2 separate regions of the Homo sapiens genome follow, and region 1 is linked to region 2. The links are contacts of gene promoters, found by promoter capture Hi-C in blood cells and fetal thymus (Javierre and others, 2016). All regions are on one chromosome and are shown on one strand. Each heading gives the region's core, a stretch centred on a gene start or on the middle of the fragment in contact. The rest is flanking DNA. Distances are from core to core; before and after follow the strand shown. Region 1 holds the start of EID2B (EP300 interacting inhibitor of differentiation 2B). Region 2 holds the start of PSMD8 (proteasome 26S subunit, non-ATPase 8).

Region 1 (5,315 bases), core at 2,185-4,684, 1.2 Mb before region 2:
TTTTTAAATGAGCTTTACAATATGTGGTTTTATCACTTGGTTTACAACTAAATACACTGAACATTTTCTCTTCTACAACAGTTAAAAGAATTGCATAGCTTGGAGGAAGCATAATTTATTAAGCAATTTTGTTGGGGACATTGAGGTATAATATTTTTTCTAAAAAGACTTTTTACAAAGGCTGAGGCAGGAGAATCACTTGAACCTGGGAGGCAGAGGTTGCAGTGAGCCGAGATTGCGCCACTGCACTCCAGCCTGGCGACAGAGCGAGACTCCGTCTAAAAATCAATTCTTTTTACAATGCCTTTAGGAAAAAAAGGGGAGTCCTTGTCTTATATATCTTTCATTAGATGATGGAAACTTGCCCTTCCATTTAGCCTTTTAACTTGCTTCTCTACACCCACCTAATCACCAGTTAAATAACCTATTTTATGTTTTCCAACCTCTCTCTCCCATTTGCTTCCTCTTTCTTACCCAGTCTCCCTGCACACATGCAGACAGACTTCCATTCCTTCATCACTCTGGTTCCTCGCCTTAAAGAGGCTGTCTTTCCTTTTAAAGAGACAATGTTAATTGATTTTGATCAACTCTACTCAAAACTGTATCCTAAGGTCCACATTAAGATTAGTCTTTAATAATCTGAAGATATAATTCAGTCGTTTAAAAGAACATATTAAGAAGACCTTGGTAGAATTACATGTATCAATAAACACGAGGCCTTGAGCAGTTGCTCACGCCTGTAATCCCAGCACTTTGAGAGGCTAAGGCAGGCAGATCACAAGGTCAGGAGTTTAAGACCAACCTCGCCAATATGGTGAAATTCGGTCTCTACTAAAAATACAAAAAAGTTAGTCGTGCATGGTGGCACATGCCTGTAATCCCAGCTACTGGGGAGGCTGAGGCAGGAGAATTGCTTGAACCCAGGAGGCAGAGGTTGCAGTGAGCTGAGATCGTGCCACTGCACTCCAGCCTGGGTGACAGAGCGAGACTCCATCTCAAAAAAAGAAAGAAACACTGGACTTGGGTGCAGTGGAGATATGGCTGACTTTCTTTTGAAAAAAGAAGTCGTTTTTTGGGAGAGGGCAGGGCAAAGAAGTAAGAAGTTGTTGATACTGTAAGGAAATGTTAGAGACCATTTTGGAAATATACTCATTATTTTAAGTAAACTAACAAATGATCATCTTTCATTGTAGCAGCAGCTTTTACTGGTCATGAAATTTGCATGATATCTAAAATGGTATTTCTGGAAATAGGTCAGTGTCAATTAATAGTAACTTTGTATAGAAAGGCAGATGCCAGCTAGCATAAAAGTGGTACATGCAGACGGTGGTAGTTCTGGAGTCCTGGAAGCCATGAGATGCTCATCCATCACAAGGCCATCACAGCCAGTAAAATGCCTGAGGAAAGCAGCAGAGCTGGCCGTGCCAGCATTTACACAGGGAACACTTCTTGGGCAGCCAGGTGTCATGGAGCACAGACCCACAGTTCTCTTTGCACACATCGTGCTCACAGTTCCATCCATAGAAGGACGGGGGGCAGGCACAAAAGGACCCCAATGCAGGTTCCCCCATTCAGGCAGCAGGTTCTGCTTAGCTCCTTACTGTCCTGTATCCCCATGGGCAGCACACGCTGGGAAGACTGAGGCCGAATTGCAGGCTCCTCCTGGGGCCGAATGCTGTCATTTCTGAAGGCCAGGTCTCCCTGAGATGGACACGCAAGTTCCTGATGACCCAGCCCAGCAACTAATCCCAGTTCAAAGGCTTCAAAATGGCCATGATCCAAATCACACTGGAAGAGAAGCAGGCCATCTTCCTGCAGTCCATAGCTCTGTTGTTGTCCCCTTGAAGTTACCTTCCAGAGAAGTCCTTTCTTTTGTCTTCTGTGGAATATCACAAATGTGCTTTTTGAAGCATATATGTCACATGTAGGAGAACTCCATCTCTCCAAGAGAACTGTAGAAACAAAGTAAGGTACACGTGAGTCAGAATGATTTCCAACCCAATCAGCTCCCAGACACGACCTGTGATAGGTCAGAATTTTTAGATGGATCCTCCTGAAGTTCAATTGCCAGCAACTCTCATATTTGGATTCCAGCTAAATTCAAAGGATTTTTTTTCGAGACAGGGTCTTGCTCTGTCATACAGGGCTGGAGTGCAGTGGTGCAATCATAGCTCACTGCACAGTCCACCTACCAAGCTCAAGTCATCCTCCCACCTCAGCCTCCTGAATAGCTGAGACTACAGGTGCACATGCCACCATGCCTGCCTAATTTTTTTTTTCTGTAGGGACAGGGGTCTCACTATGTTGCCCAGGCTGGTCTCAAACTCATGGGCTCAAGCGATCCTCCCACCTTTGCCTCCCAACTTGCTGGGATTACAGGCATGAGCCACTACACCCAGCCACAGCTGACTGATTTTAAATGGAACATAGACTTTCACGTTTTGGGTTATCATCAGGATCAGAGCTAGCCACACAGAAAGGCTAACCATATCATTAGAGAGTTGGGGCTTGGAGCCATGTGATATCAGGTAGGAGGCTGGAGATTGACTTCAACAAAATGGACGATGGTTTAATCAAGCATGCCTAGGTAGTAAAACCCCAGTAAAAACTCTGGACACCAAAGCCTGGGTGAGAGTCCTATGTTAGCACTACCCCCACACTTATTGCCACACATGGACGACAAAGGGTAACACATCCCTAGGAACACAGGAACTTCACATTTGGAACCCTCCCCATCCCAGATTGTGCCTTATACATCTCTTCTAATCTGTGTCCTTTGCCTGTAATAAGCATGACTGTGAATATAACAGATTTCAATGAGCTCTGGGAATTATCAAACCTAAAGGTGGTTTTGGGAAACCCCCAAACTTCCAGTGTCAAAATATTACTTACAGGCCAGGCCGAGTGGCTCAGGCCGGTAATCCCAGCACTTTGGGAGGCCAAGGCAGGATGATCACTTGAGTCCAGGAGTTCGAGACCAGCCTGGGCAACATAGTGAGACCCAATTTCTACAAAAAATAAAAAATCAGCTGGGTGTGGTTGTGTGCACCTGTAGTTCCAGTTACTCCAGAGGCTGAGGCAGGAGGATGGCTTGAGGCTGGGAGGTCAAAGCAGCAGTAACCGAGATCGCACCACTGCACTCCAGCCTAGGCGACAGGGCGAGACCCAGTCTGAAAAAAAAAAAAAAAAGACAGGAGCTGGAAAATGACCGTATAAGGAACTTTACATTAATACTGAAGTGGTTGTAATTTAAGATACCGCGCAGTCCGCAGGTCCTCAGGCGCTCAGAGGACCAGAGGCGGCTACAGACGTAATGGCTACTCAGGACCGCTAGGGAACGCTAGAGGATTGGCCACCGTGCTTACGCATGCGCACACTCTGGCACGCACAGCGTTTACGCGCTCACTGAGACTCGCGCATGCGCAGGTCTCGCATACAGCAGTGCAGTGCCGTTATTCCAGTCTCCGTAGAAACGCTGGGACTATGGCGGAGCCGACTGGGCTGTTGGAGATGTCCGAGCTCCCCGGAGATAGCAGTGTCCCACAGGTGGGCACCGCGAGTGGCGTCAGCGACGTACTGCGGGGGGCAGTCGGCGGCGGGGTTCGGGTGCAGGAGGCTCGGGAAGGCCCAGTGGCCGAAGCTGCGCGGTCCATGGCGCGGATGCCGGGCCCTGTGCCCGGGCCCATCCCCAGCAGCGTCCCGGGCCTGGCCTCCGCGCCAGACCCCCATCAGCAGCTCGCTTTCTTAGAAATTAACCGGCAGCTGTTGTTCCGCGAGTATCTGGATGGTAGCTCCATGATTCCGGTCAGATTACTACGGGATTTCGAGGAACGCCGCAGGCTGTTTGTGGAAGGCTGCAAGGCGAGGGAAGCAGCCTTTGACGCGGATCCCCCGCAGATGGACTTCGCTGCTGTCGCGTTTACGGTAGCGCTGACTGCCTCCGAGGCCCTCAGTCCTCTGGCCGACTGAGTCGGCTGTGATGATGACATTGGTGGCAAGGAATAGCCAAGTGACCCTTTTGGGATCAAAAGAACAGGCAGGCTGTGCCAGTTTAGTTAACTCAGTCATTAGGGGGAATGCAAACTGGAAGGGAATACGGCAATGTGCAATTGAAGGAGGAAGCACACTCCGAAATGGAAACAGACAAGACTGTTGAATCTTGTTTTCTTTCTTCTTTTTTAGTATTATTTAAATAGAGAAGGGAGTCTCGCATCCCTAGGCTGGTCCCGAACGCTTGGACCCGAGCGATCCTCCCGCTTCGGCCTCCCAAAGTGCTGGGATTACTTTACAGGCGTGAGCCACCGCGCCCGGCCGAATCTTGTTTTCAAACAGGTCCCAAGACACTTCTGACTTAGCACTTTGTTAGCAATGCATTTTCCTGCATTTGTGAAGAATCCTTCATGACTTTCACCATAAAGGATGGTTTTGCAAAGATATGAGAAAAAAAAAATGCCAATAACAGAACCCATAGAAATGAACCTAAGTGATGAAAGAAAACAAAGAAATAGAGTTGTCAGGAATCCAGGTGTACCTGAGTTACTAGGATTGGAAGGCTATTGAGAGGACTTTGAAATTTCACAATTTGTGGTCATGTCAACAAATCCTAGTGTAAGATTCATATTTGTGTTTTCTGAGGTACTTTAGATGAACAGTAAATATTCAATAGAAAAAACCACGTATTATATGATCAGTGTTTTCAAGTCTATGTGAAATTGGGTAGGTGTGGAATAAACTTGTTTTTTGTTAATTTTAAGCTTTTTATTTTATTCTAGAATATGTATTCTATTCACAAGACTCAACAAAAAAAAGTATCGGCCGGGCGCACTGGCTTACGCCTGTAATCCCAGCACTTTGGGAGGCCACGGCGGGTGGATCACCTGAGGTCAGGAATTCAAGACCACCCTGGCCAACATGGTGAAACCCCATCTCTACGAAAAATAAAAAATTAACTGGGTGTGGTGGCACGCGCTTGTAGTCCCAGCTACTCGGGAGGCTGAGGCAGGAGAATCACTTGAACCTGGGAGGCGGAGGTTGCAGTAAGCCGAGATCACGCCACTGCACTCCAGCCTGGTCAACAGAGTGGGACTCCGTCTCAAAAAAAAGAAAAAAAGTATCAAAAGATGCTGTGAGAAATCTCTCTTGTTGCTGTCCTTTGCCAAACTCAGAACTATTCCATGCAGGTGCCATTGCTTGTGGCTTGGAGTTTTGTTGTTGTTTTCTTGGTTTTGCTTGTTTTTTGCTTTTTCACTGTACGCCTTTCAGGTTTTCTAATGCATATGCAAATAAACATCAATCTAAATATTGTGCATTTTCCC
Region 2 (5,705 bases), core at 2,089-4,588:
AAGCACTTTGGGAGGCCGAGGCGGGTGGATCACCTGAGGTCAGGAGTTCAAGACCAGCCTGGCCAACCTGGCAAAACCCCATCTCTACTAAAAATACAAAAATTAGCTGGGCGTGGTCGTGGGCACCTGTAATACCAGCTACTCAGGAGGCTGAGGGAGGCTGAGGCAGGAGAATCACTTGAACCTGGGAGGCGGAGGTTGCAGTGCACCGAGATCCAGCCGTTGCACTCTAGCCTGGGTGGACTCTAGCAGGGCGTGGTGGCGCATGCCTGTAATCCCAGCTACTTGGGAGACTGAGGCAGGAGAATAGCTTGAACCCGGGAGGCAGAGGTTGTGGTGAGCCGAGATTGCACCATTGCACTCCAGCCTGGGCAACAAGAGTGAAACTCCGTCTCAAAAAAAAAAAAAGTTATTGGAGTCAGATGCAATGACTCAACACCTGTAATCCCAACACTCTGGGAGCCCAAGGCAGGAGGATCACTTGTGGCCAGGAGTTCGAGACCAGCCTGGGCAACAAAGCGAGACCCCCATCTCTACAAAAAATTAAAATAAAAGAGCCAGGAGTGGTGGTGTGCACCTGTAGCCCTAGCTACTTGAGAGGCTAAGGTAGGAGTACCGCTTGAGCCCAGGAGGTCAAGGCTGTGGTGAGCCATGACTGCACCACTGCACTCCAGCCTGGGCAACACAGCAAGACCCTGTCTCCAAAAATAAATAAATAAAAGAATCACCACTCCCTACTTTAACAGGGAAACTGAGAGAGGTAAAGTCATTTGCCCAAGACCTCATAATCAGGAAGCGGCTGGATGTTTCAAAGCCAGATTTGTCTGATGTCAAATTCCCAATCATTAATCTGTGCAGGTATCATTCAGTTTTATATTCAACACATATCCAGTGAGTCCCTGTTCTGGGCCTGGCCCTGTGGTAGGCAGTGCTAGGGACATAGCAGTAACTGAGACAGTTCCAAGCTCTGCCTTTAGAAAGCTCACAGTCCAGTGAGAGAAAGGGCTGGGATGAGCAGGCACAGGCAGAGGGGTGTGAGCTGGAACTGCATTGGAAGCCACAGGAAAGAACTTGGTCTTGTGCCTGAGGACCATGAAGAGCCACGGCAGGTTCTGAGCGGGGTATGGACAGTGTCAAATTTTAGTGTCACATGATCCTACTGGCTGCCACAGGGGTTTGAGTCAGAGGGGCAAGGCTGGGGCCAGGACACGTGAAAGGTGATGGCAGCCCCACTGGGCAGAGGGGGTGCAATGTGGGAATGGGTAGGGGGAGACTGACTAGTCAAGCCAAGTCTCAGGACCTCCAAGCCAAGCCCTGACCCTGCACCACTGAGGAGAGAACTAAGCCAGGAGGAGTTCCCAGATGAAGGAAGAGGACCCAAGCAGCCAGAGCTCCAGAAATAAAGGAGCTTCCATGCAACCACCCCCCCAGTTGGGGGCAGGGCCCATTCTCACTTGTAATCAAAGTAGTAGCATTTGAGCTGGGCCATGTAGCGCTCGAAGGAGGGGATGTCCTTGCGTAGGATGCTCCATTGGGCCCCGATCTCCAGTATGTCACCTGTGGGTGACAGAGTGAGCTCTCAGGAGGTGACTGAGGTCTCTTCCCCAACCACCAGTGCTACCATTCCTGCCATGACCCCCAGATTATCACCCCCAACCAACCCCAGTGACACTCACGGGCCAGAATTAGCTGCTGTTTGGTCAGCTTGGTCCCTGTGGTTGGCAAGAAGTTGAGCTCCAGAAGAACTAGCTGATGGGGAGGGGAGGGAGGGAAGAAAGAAAAGAAGGGAATTCAAATACAGATGACTTACCTGCTCTACGCTCTGGTCTTCCCACTTGGAAAATGGAGCTAACCATCATCCAGACTCATGAGGAATGCTTTCTCATAAAGCACTCAGAACAGGGCCTGAGCACGCAACACATGCCCATTTAAGATTACATCACATTACAATTATTAATAGCCCCACTGGGGAAACAAGGAGGGACACTCAGTGCCTGACCCAGTGGAATCACGCGGCGGTGGGGACAGGAGTACATTCCATTCTTGGCCCATCTTCCCCACAATCTATTGGGGAAGGGGTAGCTGGGCTATCCCCAAAATCTATATCTGGGAGGGGGAGGTCCAAATCTCCCCCCACAGTTCAGCCCATACATCTTTCCTTAGCAGGCTCAGCAGCTTGTTCCAAGCCACTGGATTTACACTCCCTCCCAACAGATGTTTGGTCTGAAGCACTCTGGGCCCCGTATTCTTGTTCTCTACTTGTAAGAATATTTCTTCTAGGTTCAGTCCTGCCTTCACAACTAGGCTGCCCCCTCTCCCAACAGATGCGAGCCTAAGCCCCAGATCTCTCAGATCCTAACCCAGCCTGGTCTTAACCACACACCCTCTACACAGCCCACCTTTTCAGCCTCATTCTTTTATCACTCCGGGCAGTCCTCACTTCCCACTTGGTCTTGCCTGGAATCCACCATCAGGAAAAGCCCGAATCCCAATCCTGCCACTCCGACCAGTTAAGCCTCCACGCACCAAAAATCTAACCCCTCACTCAGTTCTGCCATAAGTCTTCCAATCATTCCCCCACCACCCCCGCGTGGGTCCATTCCAGTCATCTCTCACTTAAAAAAAAAATGTAGAGACAGAGTCTCGCTATGTTGCTCAGGCTGATCTTGAACTCCTGGGCTCAAGCGACGCTCCCCCGCCTCGGCCTCCCAAAGCGCTGCGATTACAGGCGTGACCATCAACGCTCCCTGTCCCTCTCTCGCTTCTTGACGCCCTCCGAGCCCCCACTTTGGCTGTTCCAAATCTTTCACCCCATCGGATCCCCCAGCCCGCCTCAGTCTCGCTGGCACCGAGGTGGCTTCCGCGGCCCGGGACTTGGTTGGGTCCAGACACCTCGTAGCGCCTCCCACGCCCGCAACACTCGGTTTCCTGGGCCTGCCGACTTTACCTTGAGTCGACCCAGCTCTTCCCCGCACTTGCTAAGATTGGGGCTTTTACGGTTCCACTCGCCCTTGAGTTGCTCGTACATGCCGGTCGCGGCCTGCAGAACAGCGCCCGAGGTTGCCGCGGGCCCGGAGCTCGAGAAGCCTGCCGCCCCGTTCACCGCCGCGGCCGCCATCTTGCGTGATGCGGCAAGCAGACCGCCTGATTTACGGCAGCGCCGCCTACAAACGCTTGCCCGGCGGAAGTGGGGCCGAGAGGTGGAGCCCAAGGCCCGGGGCGGGGCTACAACCTGCCTCAGCCCGCCCCGGGTAGCCCGCCGTCGCTCTCGAGGTGGCGCCCTCGGAGCCCTGCCCTTAATGAACATGTCAGTTGGAGCTCCGCCTCTGTCGTCACTCAAGATGGTGACCGGAAGTTGGCTTTTGCCCTAACTGAAAATGACAGCTGTCTCAACACCACCCCCCCTACCCACCTCACGGTTCCAATAATGAACATGGCTGCCCTGGCTTCAGTCTGAGTGCTCGGGACGCTACGTAGCTGTCCTGGAGGTTCCGCCTTCGGGGCAGCGTCTCCAAGCCAAAAGGTAGCGGGTGTCGTGCCATTTGGAGAGCTGTGTTATTCTCATTTTATAGACAGACTGAGAGGCTGGGTAACCTTCCAAAGGACTAACAGCTAGGATGTGTACCTGGGGCTCCCTCTCCAGTCTTTTTCAATGCATCCTTCCACATTTTTTTCCCAAGCTTATATGAACTAACTAGTTACAAAACTCATCCAGCTCTATGGCTTTCAATGTCATGTGTAAGTGGAGGATTCACAATTTTTTTTTTTTGAGACGGAGTTTAGCTCTTGTTGTCCAGGCTGGAGTGCAATGGAGCAATCTTGGCTCACTGCATCCTCCGCCTCCTGGGTACAAGTGATTCTTCTGCCCCAGCTTCCCAAGTAGCTGGGATTACAAGCATGTGCCACCACGCCTGGCTAATTTTCGTATTTTTAGTAGAGACGTAATTTTAGTATTTTTAGTAGATGTTGGTCAGGCTGGTCTCCAACTCCTGAACTCAGGCGATTCCCTGGGCCCTGGCCTCCCGAAATGCTGGGATTACAGGCATGAGCCACCTTGCCTGGCCAGTATTCACAACTTCTTATACCAACTTCTTCCTCCACTGATTGATATTACATCTGCACATTCAACATCGCTTTTTCTCTCTTTTTAAAAAAAATTAAATTTTTTATAGAGACAGAGTCTCATTATACTGCCCAGGCTGGTCTCGAACTCCTGAGCTCAAGCGATATTCCTGCCTTGACCTCGCAAAGTGTTGGGATTAGAGGTGTGAGCCACTGCGCCTGGGCAGCACGTTTTTCTCAAACCCGACTTTCACTCTCCGTCTCCACCATTTAGAATGTCATCTCCATGAAGGCAGGACGATTTCCTTCACTACTGAATTCCCAGTATCTCAGTGCTTGGCAAATATTAGTAGACAGTCAATAAATATTTGTTGGCCAGGCATGGTGGCTCATGCCTGTAATCCCAGCACTTTGGGAAGCCGAGGCAGATAGATCACTTGAGGTCAGGAGTTCGAGACCAACCTGGCCAACATGGCGAAACCCCATCTGTACTGCAAATACCAAAAAAAAAAAACAAAAAAACCAGCTGTGCGTGGTGGCACACACCTGTAATCCCAGATACTCAGGAGCCCGAGGCAGGAGAATCGCTTAAACCCAGGAGGTCAGCTTGTAGTGAGCTGAGATTGTGCCGCTGCACTCCAGCCTGGGTGACAGAGTGAGACTCTGTCTCAGAGAAAATAAATAAATAAATGTAAAAATACCAAAAATTTGCCGGGCGTGGTGGTGCACATCTGTAGTACAGCTACTTGGGAGGCTGAGGCAGGAGAAGCACTTGAACCCGGGAGGCAGAGGTTGCAGTGAACTGAGATCGCCATTGCACTCCTGCCTGGGTGACAGAGCGAGACTGTGCTCAAAAAAAAAAAAAGAAAAAAGAAAAAAAGAAAAAGAAAGAAATTATATATGTGTTGAATTAATGAGTAAATTAATATGTGAAAGAAGTTGTGGTGGTAAAAAATGTTTTAAACAAAAATGATGGCCGGGTGTGGTGGCTCAAGTCTGTAATCTCAGCACTTTGGGAGGCTGAAGTGGATGGATCACCTGAGGTCAGGAGTTTGAGACCAGCCTAGCCAACATGGTGAAACTCCGTCTCTACTATACAAAAAATTATCTATCCAGGTATGGTGGCGGGTGCCTGCAATCCCAGTTACTCACTCGGGAGGCTGAGGCAGGAGAATCACTTGAACTTGGGAGGTGGAGGTTGCAGTGAGCCAAGATCGCACCATTGCACTCCAGCCTAGGCAACGAGCAAAACTCCATCTCAAAAAAAAAAAGAAAAAGACACAAATAAACAAAATACCACGTTGATATGGCCAGGCCAGGTGGCTCATGCCTGTAATCCCAGCACTTCGGGAGGCTGAGGCGGGCAGATCACGAGGTCAGGAGATGGAGACCAGTCTGGCTAACACAGTGAAACCCCGTCTCTACTAAAAATACAAAAAATTAGCCGGGCATAGTGGCATGCGTCTGTAGTCCCAGCTACTCAGGAGGCTGAGGCAGGAGAATCGCTCGAACCCAGGAGGCGGAGGTTGCAGTGAGCCGAGATCACACCACTGCACTCCAGCCTGGGTAACAGAGCGAGACTCCATCTCAAAAAACATAAATAGTTTCAAGTATGAGGGGAAATCCAGTCTCTGTCACTCTAT

The links. The method cuts DNA at HindIII sites, captures the fragments that hold promoters and counts their contacts. A CHiCAGO score of 5 or more calls a contact.
Region 1: the fragment with the promoter of EID2B here is called in contact with the fragment with the promoter of PSMD8 in region 2 in 1 of 17 cell types (neutrophils); the score reaches 5.2 in neutrophils.

The regions. Positions count from the first base shown.
Region 1 is chr19:39,530,971-39,536,285 of GRCh38, reverse strand. EID2B (EP300 interacting inhibitor of differentiation 2B) reads left to right here and starts at 3,434. Exons shown (of 1, transcript NM_152361.3): 1 at 3,434-5,299. The coding sequence starts at 3,484. The coding sequence ends at 3,969. It also overlaps the pseudogene CRIPTOP7. The HindIII fragment of the contact is 7,702 bases long and covers 1-4,756 here.
Region 2 is chr19:38,372,204-38,377,908 of GRCh38, reverse strand. PSMD8 (proteasome 26S subunit, non-ATPase 8) reads right to left here and starts at 3,338. Exons shown (of 7, transcript NM_002812.5): 1 at 2,948-3,338; 2 at 1,677-1,749; 3 at 1,455-1,557. The coding sequence starts at 3,307. RefSeq lists enhancers at 3,029-3,168, 2,799-3,429. The HindIII fragment of the contact is 10,393 bases long and covers 1-3,682 here.